Linked DNA regions of Homo sapiens: regions 1, 3 and 4 are each linked to region 2. Evidence: promoter capture Hi-C in 16 types of primary human blood cells and fetal thymus (Javierre and others, 2016). All regions are on one chromosome and are shown on one strand. The core of a region is centred on a gene start or on the middle of the fragment in contact, and the rest is flanking DNA. Distances in the headings are between cores, read along the strand shown. Region 1 holds the start of MIR3684 (microRNA 3684). Region 2 holds the start of SMARCAD1 (SNF2 related chromatin remodeling ATPase with DExD box 1). Region 3 holds the start of STPG2 (sperm tail PG-rich repeat containing 2). Region 4 holds the start of ADH5 (alcohol dehydrogenase 5 (class III), chi polypeptide).

Evidence for each region. The method cuts DNA at HindIII sites, captures the fragments that hold promoters and counts their contacts. A CHiCAGO score of 5 or more calls a contact.
Region 1: a fragment that was not itself captured here is called in contact with the fragment with the promoter of SMARCAD1 in region 2 in 1 of 17 cell types (naive CD8 T cells); the score reaches 9.0 in naive CD8 T cells.
Region 3: a contact is called between the fragment with the promoter of STPG2 here and the fragment with the promoter of SMARCAD1 in region 2, in 3 of 17 cell types (fetal thymus, activated CD4 T cells and total CD4 T cells). The highest score is 8.8, in fetal thymus.
Region 4: the fragment with the promoter of ADH5 here is called in contact with the fragment with the promoter of SMARCAD1 in region 2 in 6 of 17 cell types (fetal thymus, non-activated CD4 T cells, total CD8 T cells and 3 more); the score reaches 16.5 in fetal thymus.

What each region holds. Positions count from the first base shown.
Region 1 is chr4:98,996,977-98,999,862 of GRCh38, forward strand. The region is part of intron 1 of METAP1 (methionyl aminopeptidase 1); the gene reads left to right. It overlaps MIR3684 (microRNA 3684), which reads left to right and starts at 411; the gene lies at 411-484. The HindIII fragment of the contact is 2,815 bases long and covers 41-2,855 here.
Region 2 is chr4:94,206,058-94,209,134 of GRCh38, forward strand. SMARCAD1 (SNF2 related chromatin remodeling ATPase with DExD box 1) reads left to right here and starts at 1,808. Exons shown (of 24, transcript NM_020159.5): 1 at 1,808-2,013; 2 at 2,289-2,527. The coding sequence starts at 2,338. SMARCAD1-DT (SMARCAD1 divergent transcript) reads right to left here and starts at 1,499. Exons shown (of 9, transcript NR_125922.1): 1 at 1,473-1,499. RefSeq lists enhancers at 1,427-1,786, 1,885-2,388. The HindIII fragment of the contact is 2,630 bases long and covers 1,249-3,077 here.
Region 3 is chr4:98,142,072-98,145,105 of GRCh38, forward strand. It overlaps STPG2 (sperm tail PG-rich repeat containing 2), which reads right to left and starts at 1,405. Exons shown (of 11, transcript NM_174952.3): 1 at 971-1,405. The coding sequence starts at 1,079. RefSeq lists an enhancer at 1,132-1,231. The HindIII fragment of the contact is 14,460 bases long and covers 1-3,034 here.
Region 4 is chr4:99,087,294-99,090,266 of GRCh38, forward strand. It overlaps ADH5 (alcohol dehydrogenase 5 (class III), chi polypeptide), which reads right to left and starts at 1,495. Exons shown (of 9, transcript NM_000671.4): 1 at 1,396-1,495. The coding sequence starts at 1,407. It overlaps LOC100507053 (a long non-coding RNA gene), which reads left to right and starts at 1,564. Exons shown (of 10, transcript NR_037884.1): 1 at 1,564-1,991. RefSeq lists a promoter at 1,440-2,693 and a silencer at 1,478-1,527. The HindIII fragment of the contact is 7,789 bases long and covers 1,223-2,973 here.

The DNA.
Region 1 (2,886 bases), core at 198-2,697, 4.8 Mb after region 2:
TACAGAGGGGATGATTATAGCTTTCTTTGTAAGTTTCACAAGCTTCTTCTGAGACCCAGATTATCCAAGGAACGTGAAATGCTGTTATAATGTAAAGTCCTTTATTTTTTAAAGGATTCTAGTACGATTTAACTCTGCCATAAATAAAAATATGAATAAGAATGAAGGCAGATATATGAACACAATACAAATAATAAAAGTGTTTTCCAACATAAAACATAAAAACGTAAAGATATAAATAAATACAATCTTTACGTCACAATATTTGTAGATAAGCGATTGCAAAAGGTCTTAGCTGTGTTATACAGTCTTGTTTTTAGATAGGATATGATCCTTGACCTTGTTAGTATAATTTGGAAAAACTTGCACGTGGAGGAGTGTTGCTTGATCTAAAAATAGCATTACCGAACAATCTAAAGGACCTGTACTAGGTTTAACATGTTGAGCATTACTCATGTTAGACCTAGTACACGTCCTTTAGATTCTTTAAAATTCCCAAATTCTATCTTGTTGTGGCCTGTGTGGGACCTGAAATTAAGAAACAGTGTTTGCTTTTGACAGTTGTACCATCTGAGTAGAATAACTTTAAAAGTAGGTGGCATTTTGAATTAATATGTATTACAATCTTCTGTTAAGATTTTAAAAAGGTAGTGTGAAACCACATTCATGAAACAGGTAGAAAGAAGGTGAATCACTGGGGTTTGTGGAAAAATGCTAGACAAATTTGTGAAAACAAAACATCTAGGGTTTATTCCGTGTGTTAGGATTGGAGGTATTTACATGTTGGATTCTGCAGGTATATTTCTGGTATCACTGTTAGACATGCACTCAAATATTCCCAGAGTGGCTGTCCCAACTGTCTCTTTTTCTTCATTTCTGTTACCACCTCCTATGGTCAGCTTTTAAAATTTCCCACCAAATCAGTTGTCATACTCTCTTAATTTATTTCTCTACTGTAATTCCTCCCCTTGCAAACAAACGCCCACAAAAAACCCTATCAAACAAAACCTTTTGTACAGAAGTTATTTTTCCCGCAGTCTGATTATGCGTATCCCTCATTGCTTTCAGGATTCCAGCCCCACATTCAGGGCCCCTCTTCTGAGCCTCTTGCTCTAGCCAAAGGCTATGTTTACATTCTTTCCTTTCCGAAGTGTCACCTGTCTTCTGAAATCACAGCTGTTCCCCCAATCCCAGCTTGAGACCTTGATCAAGTCACTGTAACTTATTCTAAGCGCTTTATACATCTGTGATGAAATATGGGCTTGGCTGGGCATGGTGGCTCACACCTGTAATCTCAGCACTTTGGGAGGCCTAGGCGGGTGGATCACCTGAGGTCAGGAGTTTGAGACCAGACTGGGCAACATGTCAAAACCCTGTCTCTACTAAAAATACAAAAATTAGCTGGGCGTGGTGGCACACGCCTGTAGTCCCAGCTACTCAGGAGGCTGAGACACAAGAATCACTTGAACCTGGGTGGTGGAGGTTGCAGTGAGCCGAGGTTGCACCACTGCACTCTATCCTGGGCAACAGAGCAAGACTCCGTCTCAAGAAAAAAACAAAAACAAAACAAAACAAAAAACCAAAAAGAAGAAATTAGGGATTTTCCTTAACACTTCTGTGATCACTAGGAGGTCTTTCTTTCTACTGCTCTGGTCCCTGGCCTGGCTGTCTGGCCAGCTTGTCTTTGGGAACAAACAGAACAAAACTGCAAGAGGCCTTTCTATCACACCATTAACAGAAGTAAGGCATTCCCAGTTACTCTGTCACACCACCTTGTTTATTCCTTTATGACCTTTTGTGCAATCTATGATTACCTCACCTGTTAGAAAAATGAGGATTTTTTTTTTTTTTGAGACGGAGTTTCGCTTTTGTTGCCCAGGCTGGAGTGCAATGGTGCGATCTCGACTCACCGCAACCTCCGCCTCCCAGGTTCAAGCAGTTCTCCTGCCTCAGCCTCGCAAGTAGATGGAATTACAGGCATGCACCACCACGCTCAGCTAATTTTGTATTTTTAGCAGAGATGGGGTTTCTCCATGTTGAGGCTGGTCTCGAACTGCTGACCTCAGGTGATCCACCCTCCTTGGCCTCCCAAAGTGCTGGGATTACAGGCGTGAGCCACCATGCCCGGCCGAGAATGTCTGTTTTTTAGTCGGAAGGTGAACTTCATGAATGATCCTATCTTGTTCACTGCCCTGTTCTCATTTCCCAGTATGATGCTCTGTATGCAGTAGGTGGCCATTAAATGTTTGAATTAATGGATAAATGCATCAAAATAGAGAGGTATACTGCTGTGTTTGAATCACAGCTCCATCATTTACTAGTTATGTGACTTGGGCAAATAACCTCTCTTTTTCAGCTGTATCTTTTTAAAATGGGGCTATTAATAATACCTATCTCAGGGTTTTGATGAAGACTAAATCCAAAGTATGTAAAGCTCTTAGCATATTAGTAAACTTAATGAATGTTAGCTCTTTTTATTGTTATACTGTTTTATGTTTAGGAAAGTAGAAATATTTTATCTAGGATGCTTAATTTTTTTTTTTTTTTTTTTTGAGACCGAGTCTTGCTCTGTCACCCAGGCTGGAGTGCAGTGGTGTGATCTCGGCTCACTGCAACCTCTGCCTCCCGGGTTCAAGCGATTCTGCTGCTTCAGCCTCCCCAGTAGCTGAGATTACAGGTGCGCACCACCACGCCTGGCTAATTTTTTTGTATTTTTAGTAGAGACGGGCTTTCACCGTGTTAGCTAGGATGGTCTGTAACTCCTGACCTCGTGATCCGCCTACCTCAGCCTCCCAAAGTGCTAGGATTACAGGCATGAGCCACTGTGCCAGCCTAGGATGTTTGATTTTAAGGAAAGCTTTTGTTCTTTAGAGGAGTACAACCAGT
Region 2 (3,077 bases), core at 558-3,057:
AAGTGCTGGGATTACAGGCGTGAGCCACTGCGCCCGGCCAGGAGTATATATTCTTAAGCTAACATTTCCATCAAGATAGGTGAATTATATGCAAAAGAAAGGAAATCAGTGTATCGAAATGATATCTGCATTCTCATGTTTGTTGCAGCACTATTCACAACAGCCAAGATTTGGAAGCAACTTAAGTGTCCATTAACAGGTGAATGAATAAGAAAAATGTGGTGCATATACACAGTGGAGTATTATTTCGCCATTAAAAAAAATGAGATCCTGTCATTTGCAACATGGATGGAACTGGAGGTCATTATATTAAAGGAAATAAGGCAGGCACAGAAAAAAAACTTGGTATGTTCTCATTTATTATATTTGTGGGAGCTAAAAAATTAAAACAATTGAACGTATGAGAAACGGTAGAACGATGGCTACCAGAGGCTGGGAAGGGTAGTGTGGGGCGGGGGAGGACCCCGGTGGTCGGTGAGCATGGTTAATGGGTACGAAAATACAGTTTGAATGAATAAGATCTAGTATTTGATAGCACAATAGCATGACTACAGTCAACAACAATTTATTGTACTTTTTTTTTTGAGACAAGAGTCTTGCTTTGTTGCCCAGGGTGGAGTGCAGTGGAGTGATCTCGGCTAACTGCAACCTCCGCATCCCAGGTTCAAGCTATTCTCCTGCCTCAGCCTCCCGATTAGCTGAGATTACAGGCGCCCGCCACTACGCCCGGCTAATTTTTTGTATATTTAGCAGAGACGGAGTTTCACCATGTTGGCTAGGCTGGTCTCAAACTCCTGACCTTGTGATTCACCTGCCTCAGCCCCCCAAAGTGCTGGGATTACAGGCGTGAGCCACCACTCCCAGCTTATTGTACATTTTTAAATGACTAAAATAACTGGATTGTTTGAAACACAAAGGATAAATGCTTGTTATGGATACCCCACTTACCCTGATATGATTATTACACATTGCATGCCTGTATCAAAATATCTCATGTACCCTATAAATATGTACACCTACTATGTACCCGCAAACATTAAAAATTAAAATATTTTTAAAAAATTAATTAATTAATCAAATTCCATTCTAAGAACAATCAAGCCGAAAGTGAGGAATTACTTTAAATGCTTTGAAGCTCAGCATCCCGGGGTTCTTATCCGTCACTAATTACCTATACATTTGCAGGTCTCAGTTTCTTTGCTTTGTAAACATAGGCTTCTTGTAAGGATTGGGATTATACACTGAAAAAGCTTAGCACAGTATTATTACTATTATGCTATCTACATTATATTATAGGTGAAACACTACAGATTATAATACATACAATATATACTAATTGTATTATATATTGTTATTTTTTGTCATTATGCTATTTACTATTGTTCTATTTAATAACTCTCTAGATAATTTAACAGGACAAAGGTACAGAACAATCTGGCCCTTACAAGCCGGCGGAGACGGGTACGAATTACCATGACAACAGCGCGCGCCTCGACATTGTCGGCTCGCGCGTTGTTTGGGAAGAAAAAGCCTAGGCTGCGTGTTGCGTCATCATTACGCGCTCTTAAGGTTTCTCCGTGGTGTTTTGGAAGGTCCCGGCACGGCTACCGTCGCCCCACGCTAGGAAATTTTTTTTTTATTTTCAACCTTTGTTACATAGCACTGAGGCTACAAGATCGTAAGTACTGAGGGAAGAAAGAACAAGCGAGCGATTGAACGTTAAAAAGATGCCTTAGCATGCACTCCACCTCTGAACCTTCCTGTGTGTTCTTAATCCTATCAGCTTCCTCTCAGCTGGGATCGCGCCGCGTCAACTTCCGGGCGGATGCCCGCCAGCACGGCCTCCGCCGCTCCCCTTCTTTGGCCCCTTTGTGTCCCCGCAGTGTCGAGGCGCGGGCCCTGGCAGGTCCTTTCTCGAGGCAGGGGGCACGGTAGCACAGGGAGCTTCTCTTTGTGGGCGGGCGCGAGGCCCGCTAGGGGGTTATACTGGGGAACGTGCCTGCGCGTGCTTGGGTAAGAGGAGGTTGCATGAGGGTCAGCTCGTGGTTTCAGTAAGGAGGGGCGGGCGGGGGAGGCGGACGAAGGGGAGTGAAAAGCAATGGAAAATTTTAAAAGATACCCCCGTCCACCTTCTAATTGTTGCGGCCTAACAATGAAGCGCAGCCATAACAGTCCTGAGCCACTGGCATGTTTGCGGGCCCTTTATTGCCTTGGGAATAAACTGCTGTGGCATTGTATCGTATATTGTTTTCATGGCCTTTTTTCCTCTCTTTATTTTTCCCCTGCAGATAGTTCATTTAAAGCCCCCATCCCTGCAAGGTGGTGCTTTCTACCAATATGAATCTTTTCAACCTGGACCGTTTTCGCTTTGAGAAAAGGAATAAGATTGAGGAAGCGCCCGAAGCAACCCCTCAACCTTCCCAGCCTGGCCCTTCTTCACCAATTTCTCTTAGTGCTGAAGAGGAGAATGCTGAAGGGGAAGTTAGCAGGGCAAACACTCCTGATTCAGATATAACTGAAAAAACAGGTGAGTTACAATGTTAAAATTGATGTAACATCAAGGACAGTTTTTAAAAGATGAAAGGCAGAAGGGATTCTCATTTTTATTCTTGATGTCATATATATTGATGCATTGTCCTGCGGTGTGCCCTTTTAAATACAGCTTTGGGACTGCCATAAGCACCATGTACCCTCAACTGAGCATCCATCCATTGTCGCCTCACTTTTATATGAGTTCTTCGAATATGGCCCCATGGTGGAAGTTGAAATTAGAATTTAGGGCATCCATAGGTCAGAACGGTTGCTATTGGAAGAGCGATGTCAGTGATTCAGTCCTATGATAAACTTTGAGGCTATTTGGGCAGACATTTTCATTCATTCCAGTATTCCCTCAAAATATTGATCATCTACTGTGAGCTAGACATTGAGCAAGGTGCCTAAAGACAACCTCTGTACACAAGGGAAGATCAGATCACATCAAGTTCTTGCATCCACCTGACTTCCTGGATGTCCTCAGAATGCAAATGAGTAATTGGTATTCTTCATGGTGAATGAACATTTTTAACCTCATCAGCAGA
Region 3 (3,034 bases), core at 155-2,654, 3.9 Mb after region 2:
TGTTAGGGGAATTAATGCTTATAATGCCCAACTCCATTAAAATAAAGATAGAATAAGCTGCAAGAATAGTGATACCAGATACTGTGAAGCAGTACAATTCAACATGTGAAACACTGACAGAAGTCAAATTTGTACTCCACCCCAAGAAACCTAAACCTTCCCTTATCTGATCAGTTATGTAACAGAATAATGGATCCTGGCATTTGCTTGAAAATACATAGTGTAGGTATGGGGAAAATGTAGGTTAAGAAAAACTATCATTTGGACGGTATTAAGCTCCAGAAAATCACCAGAATAGAAAAAGTAGAAAGCAAAATTGATGTATTTATTTTTGACTAAGTCACTAACTGCAAACAAACGAGGAGAGCAAATATTATTTAAATTATCCATCCCCACTCCACTGGTCAAAAATATAATTTTTCTTTACAGAATGTGGAGAAAAGGGGCTCCCCTGAAGTGTGTTAAAAGAGATGAGGACGGTCAGAAAAATCTGTCTGAAAAAAAAACGGAACTATCTTTAAATAATACTGCAAAATAGAAATATAAGCTACATCTTAATAAATAAATGTCTCTGGTTAATGGGAGGAAAGATGTGAGGCAGGCAGGATTACAAAGCAACGAGACAGCGGGAGGTAAGGGCACAGGATTTGGAGACTCATATATTATGTCAACACAGCCAGGAAATCAAAATCCTAGACCTAAACTGCACAATCAAAAGTAGGATGTAGACAACTATTGCGGAATCAAAAGTCCTAGCCATATGCTCACCAGCCTTTTGAAATGGGACAAGTGATACTATCAGTCTCATCTGTAAAATAAAAGTATAGTGTTTTCCCTGCCTACTTCATGTTTTGTTATGTTTACAAAATGGTACTATTCCGCTCTATGTTTAACTCACAAGCACGCAGAAGCGGAGCAGGCTGAAGATAGGATGCCTGTCACAGGAGCTCTGCCTCTTCCTACATCTTACCTGTCGCCTGCTGCTTCAGGAAAGGTACCTGGTAGGATCCAGGACCCACATGGGCCTCAGTGCTGCCACCTTCAGCCAATTTGAGCAGGCGGGGAGCCCGATCATACATAGTGCTCGGGGTGGTGGGGGCGCTGGGGAAGGGCAGGTGCCGAAAACGATAAAAACAAGGTAGCTAGAAGTGTGGAGAAAAAGGAAGCCGACACCAGTCTGAGGAGGCCGGGAAAGAACTTCCGTAAACAGGGAAATTAGGGGTGGGGTTGTCTCCCCGCCCGCTCATTGATACCAGATTTCCTCAAATCGATTTCTAGCTCTGTGGTAAAGTAGAGGGGTGAGCGACTAGAGATTAGACGTCCCACACAATCATCAGTTTGCCAGGTGCACGCCACCAAAATTGGGTATTAGGGATTAGACGCTCGCCCCGGTGCTTCCGGCCCTGACTCCGCCCACTTCTCTCCGCCCGGAAGCCTGGGGAGGAGGCGGGCCCAGTCTCTGGGGAGGAGGCGGGCCCAGTCTCTAGGGAGCGAAGTGGAGGTGCCTTCCTGGGCCGAGCCCTCGGAGCATGCGCACCGAGCAGCCACCCTTTCCCGGCTCTTTTTACCCGGAACCCGGCGCGCCTTGAAGAAGGCAGGCCTAAACCTCGTAGCTCTTGGGGTCCCGGTAACTACTTAGGTCCCGAACTTTTTTAAGTATGCAGAAGAACCTTAGAAAACGCGTTAGGAAGGGTGAGGACTAACTTGACCTTGATCTGCTTCCCGACTCAACAGAACCTAGTAAAGAAAAATGCAGTAGCATGAAGCAGAGAGCTTGGGGTTCCGCAAGCTCTCCCCCGCTTCTACTGCAGCCCCACTCGTACTCACAGAGAAAAGGCACCTCTGATCTTAACCTGTAGATAGTCCAAACTGCTAAGACAAACCCAGGGCTCAGGGCAGTGACAAGAAATGGAGAACCCAGAAAAAAAAATAACAAATAAGATAAGGGTAAAAAAGAAAAAAAAAAAAAAAGAAATGAGGACACCAGGCAAGGAGGCGAAAAGCTCACCAACTGAAGCCGTGGAAGTGACTGAAAGCTGCCTCTTTTGTCGTATGCCAGGTAACCACAATACTGATTCATCAATATTTAAAAAGCAAAGCGAAGGCACTGAAAAAGCCCAGTCCACCCCACCAAACCAATGATTCTGAACCTTGGGCAAAAGAAACCTTGCTTGTCCTTGGGGCTTAAGGAATCTATGTCAGAATCCACCTCTGCATCTCGCAGGCTGTTTTTTCTAGCAAGAATTCTGTCCAGATTATAAATATCCTCAGAGGCTTAGACAAATCCTACCTTGATCATACCTCACCTCCAAATGGTCTACAGTACGTTAATTTGTTCCTACTACAAGTTTTTATAGTTTTCATACTCTGTAATACACGATTTGCCACTCAATCCTGTGCAACATTTACTGTGGCTTCATTGTGCCATATAGGTCGGAACCCTCTCCTTGCGAGGCTATATGCTTCTCAAGGATGTATCTGTAGTACCTTTTTTTCTGTTCAATAGCTAGCTAAATTATTTATGCACTTAAAAAACACGAATTGGCATATACTGTAGGTTCCATCCCTGCTAAGTTATGAGGATACAAAGGCATAAGAAAGTCCCTGCCCTCAGGTGTTCTCTCTCTAATGGGGAAAGAGACGTATAATCCAAAACGAGAGGTGGCAAAGATTTTTTTTAATGGTAGGAAAATGAATATTGCAATATTTTGGAAACATCTCACCAACTTCGATTCTCCCTGCATTCTGTCAGAAACCCTCATAATTCTCTCAATGTTGTTTTAACCTTATTTTCCAAGCTGCCACCTATACCCATTCAGAAGATCTAGATATTTACTATGACATATTAGAAAGAGTCACAGAGATGAAAGAGAAAAATTCATGTGCTGTGTATGATAATCCAGTGGTGCTTGTAAATTTGCCCGCTATGTCCTTAAGGACATCATTTGACCTTGATGATCCAAACAAGGATATCAACCCAAACTGCATACTCAGGTCTAGGCCATGGTTGCCGTAAGCATTGATGCAGAATTTC
Region 4 (2,973 bases), core at 245-2,744, 4.9 Mb after region 2:
ATCGCTTGAACCCGGGAGGCAAAGGTTGCAGTGACCCAAGATCGCGCTATCGCACTCCAGCCTGGGAAACAAAGAGCGAAACTCCGTCTGAACTGGCGGGGGAGGGGGGGGGGAGGGAAATGGCCTCTGTAAATTGGTGAGGTTGGAAATGTGGAAATGATCGTTTTTAAAATTAAATTGCAGATATTAAATCTCATAGTACAAAGAATCAGACACTGCATTAGAACCTTTTTCATTTCAATGTGCCATAAATTTCAACTCCACAAGTCAGATTCAGAATACTAACAATTAAGTTATGCAACATAGGAATCCAAAGAAACAAGAATACTAAATTTGATGGCCTGCTCCCCTTTAAAAAATGTCTTAATGGAGCCTAACCTTTTCCTTTTACTGACAATTCTAAGCAAAACAAAGCCCCACTCTAAATCCGCGGGAAATGGCCCTACTTCAACATTTGAACTATAGTAACAATTATAATCTTTCACCTTCTCTGAATAAAGACACTCAGTAATAAGGAAAAGCAACTACCAGTTTAAGTCTGAAAGACTGTTTAGAGTTTATTTCTTTCAAACTCCAATATGTTTAAGGCCATTTGTCTTACTAGAAAATGTCCAAAATTGCAAAACATTAAAATAATCAGCAACTTTAGACTGAGTATGTTATTCGTAATTTCTGCCTTTCTTTACTGTCTAATTTGTATTTTATGAATTTGTCATAGAGGAGCAGACCTGGGTCGGAATCCCAGCTCGCCATCGTTGGTGTGACCAAGCACAACCAACCTCAAACCTCAGTTTTTGGTAAGATGGGGATAACACCTCGCAGAGGTGTTTGTTACGTGAGGACTAGAGGGAATATAAATCTCTTGGTATTTAAGTGCTCGAAAATGTTTCTGAAAGGGACGTAGGGGTCTTTCCAAAATACACTCCTTGGAGGCACAATAATTAAGGCGTAGGCTCAATTATGCAACACAAGCAACCTAGGAGTTAGAAGCACGGGATCTGGCTGCAGCTCTGCCAAGTATGCAAGCTGCAAGAATGACCCAGAGCGAGTTACTTAATTTCGTGTAAGAAGCAATGCGTGGCCGCTCCTAAGCCATTTCCACTGGGATACCGACCTGACCAGCCCCTGCCCCCCACTCTCCGGCTCTCCCACCCCCCCACCCCGTTCCGACTGTCCCAGAAGCAGCAAAGAAAGCTGCTTCCCAACTGAAGAGCCGAGACAAAGCTTCCTTCTCTTTCTGCCCCTCTGAGCCGCTCGCTGGGGGCCCAGTTTCAGAACCAAGAGCCAGATCCCGTCTTGGGCGCCGAGCCTCGCGCGCCCCCGAGGATAGCAGCCTAGTCCCATGCCATGCACTCCCTCCCTTGGACTCAGGGCCCTCCGCTCAACGGGCCCTACCTCGTTCGCCATGTTCACGGATTCTGGTCGGCGCGGGGGGCTGACATCCGGGGTGGGCCGCGCAGCGACGGAGGCATGGGCGTGGCGAGCGCCTAGCGAGGGGGGCGGGGCGTGGGGGGGGCTTGCAATGGCTCCAACCGGAAGGGCGGTGCTCGAGCTGTGGTGCGTGCCGCTAAGTTGTGCGTTCCAGGGTGCACTCGCCGGCGAGGCTGCACGGCGCCGGTTTCATTGCTAAAATCCGACGGACTTGTTGCAGAACTCGTTTTTTTTGTCGGGAAAGGGCTTCCCCGTGTAACTTTACAGCAGTTATCGTAGATAAGACTTGCAAATTACAGATGTGGACGGTGAGGGAACGGGAATTTCACTGAAAGCGCCTGAGAACCAGTAAGAGACCTGCAACAGCTTTGTGCTCCACTGGCGAATGCTTCCTCCCCTAATACACATTATGTGTGCTTGGAGACACAAGGAGTAAGATACAGCCCCTCAAGGGACTCGTCATAGGGAGAGGACACAGCTTTGGGAATAAAGGGGCCACAAAGGAGGAGAGAGGAGTTTGCTGAAACTTCCCAAGCTCCCATTCCAGCAGTTCCTGAAGGGTAGGTAGGATTTTGGGGAGACAGTAGAACGTGGGCAGAGAACTTTGGAAGGAGGAGATGAGGAGAACAAAAAGTCTCCTGATCCTGGACAGTTTTTTGTGTTAAGAGTGGGCCAGAGTGTAGAGAGAGAGAATGTAGTATTTGTCGGTTTACTCTTTCTTTGTTTGTTTGAGACGGAGTCTCGCACTGTCGCCCAGGCTGGAGTGCAGTGGCGCGATCTCGGGTCACTGCAACCTCCGCCTCCTAGGTTCAAGTGATTCTCGTGCCTCAGCCTCCTGAGTAGTTGGGATCACAGGCACACGCCACCACGCTGGCTCAATTTTGTATTTTTAGTAGAGATTGGGAGTGGGGGCAGGGGGTTGGTCTCACCATGTATGCCAGTCTGGTCTTGAACTCCTAACCTCAAGTGATTCACCCACCTCAGCCTCCCAAAGTGCTGGGATTACGGGCATGAGCCACCGCACCTGGCCTGCCAGTTTACTCTTAAACTCTGTTGTAAACGCTGAATTTTGTTAAAATAGCTCTGTCAGACACACTGCTCTTTTCTGTCTTTCAGTCTTTTTCTTGGCTCTTTTCCGGGTACATATGGTAAGATTGTCCAAAGTCTTTCCGTCCTTTCACTCCACTCTCTCACTCACACTTTGGCTTTTAACGTCTATTTATGGAAAGATGACTACCAGATTATTATCTCCAATCAGGATGGCTCCCCTAAACTCCAGACTTGGACATGTAACTGCCTACTGGATTTCTGTCTCCATTAGGATATCTCACAATCGAATGCAACTCCTAAAACTCCTATTAATATTTTCTCCTTATAGGGACTCTTTCCTCTGTGTGTTGACACTCTCCACATACTTACCCTAGCCAGAAACATGAGAGTCACAACTTCTCCCTCTCCCTCGGTCCCTGCATTCAGTTTGTCACCAAGCCCTAAATATCTCTCTGGTCTTGTGCCTCTCTCTCCCCACTGCTGCTGTATTAG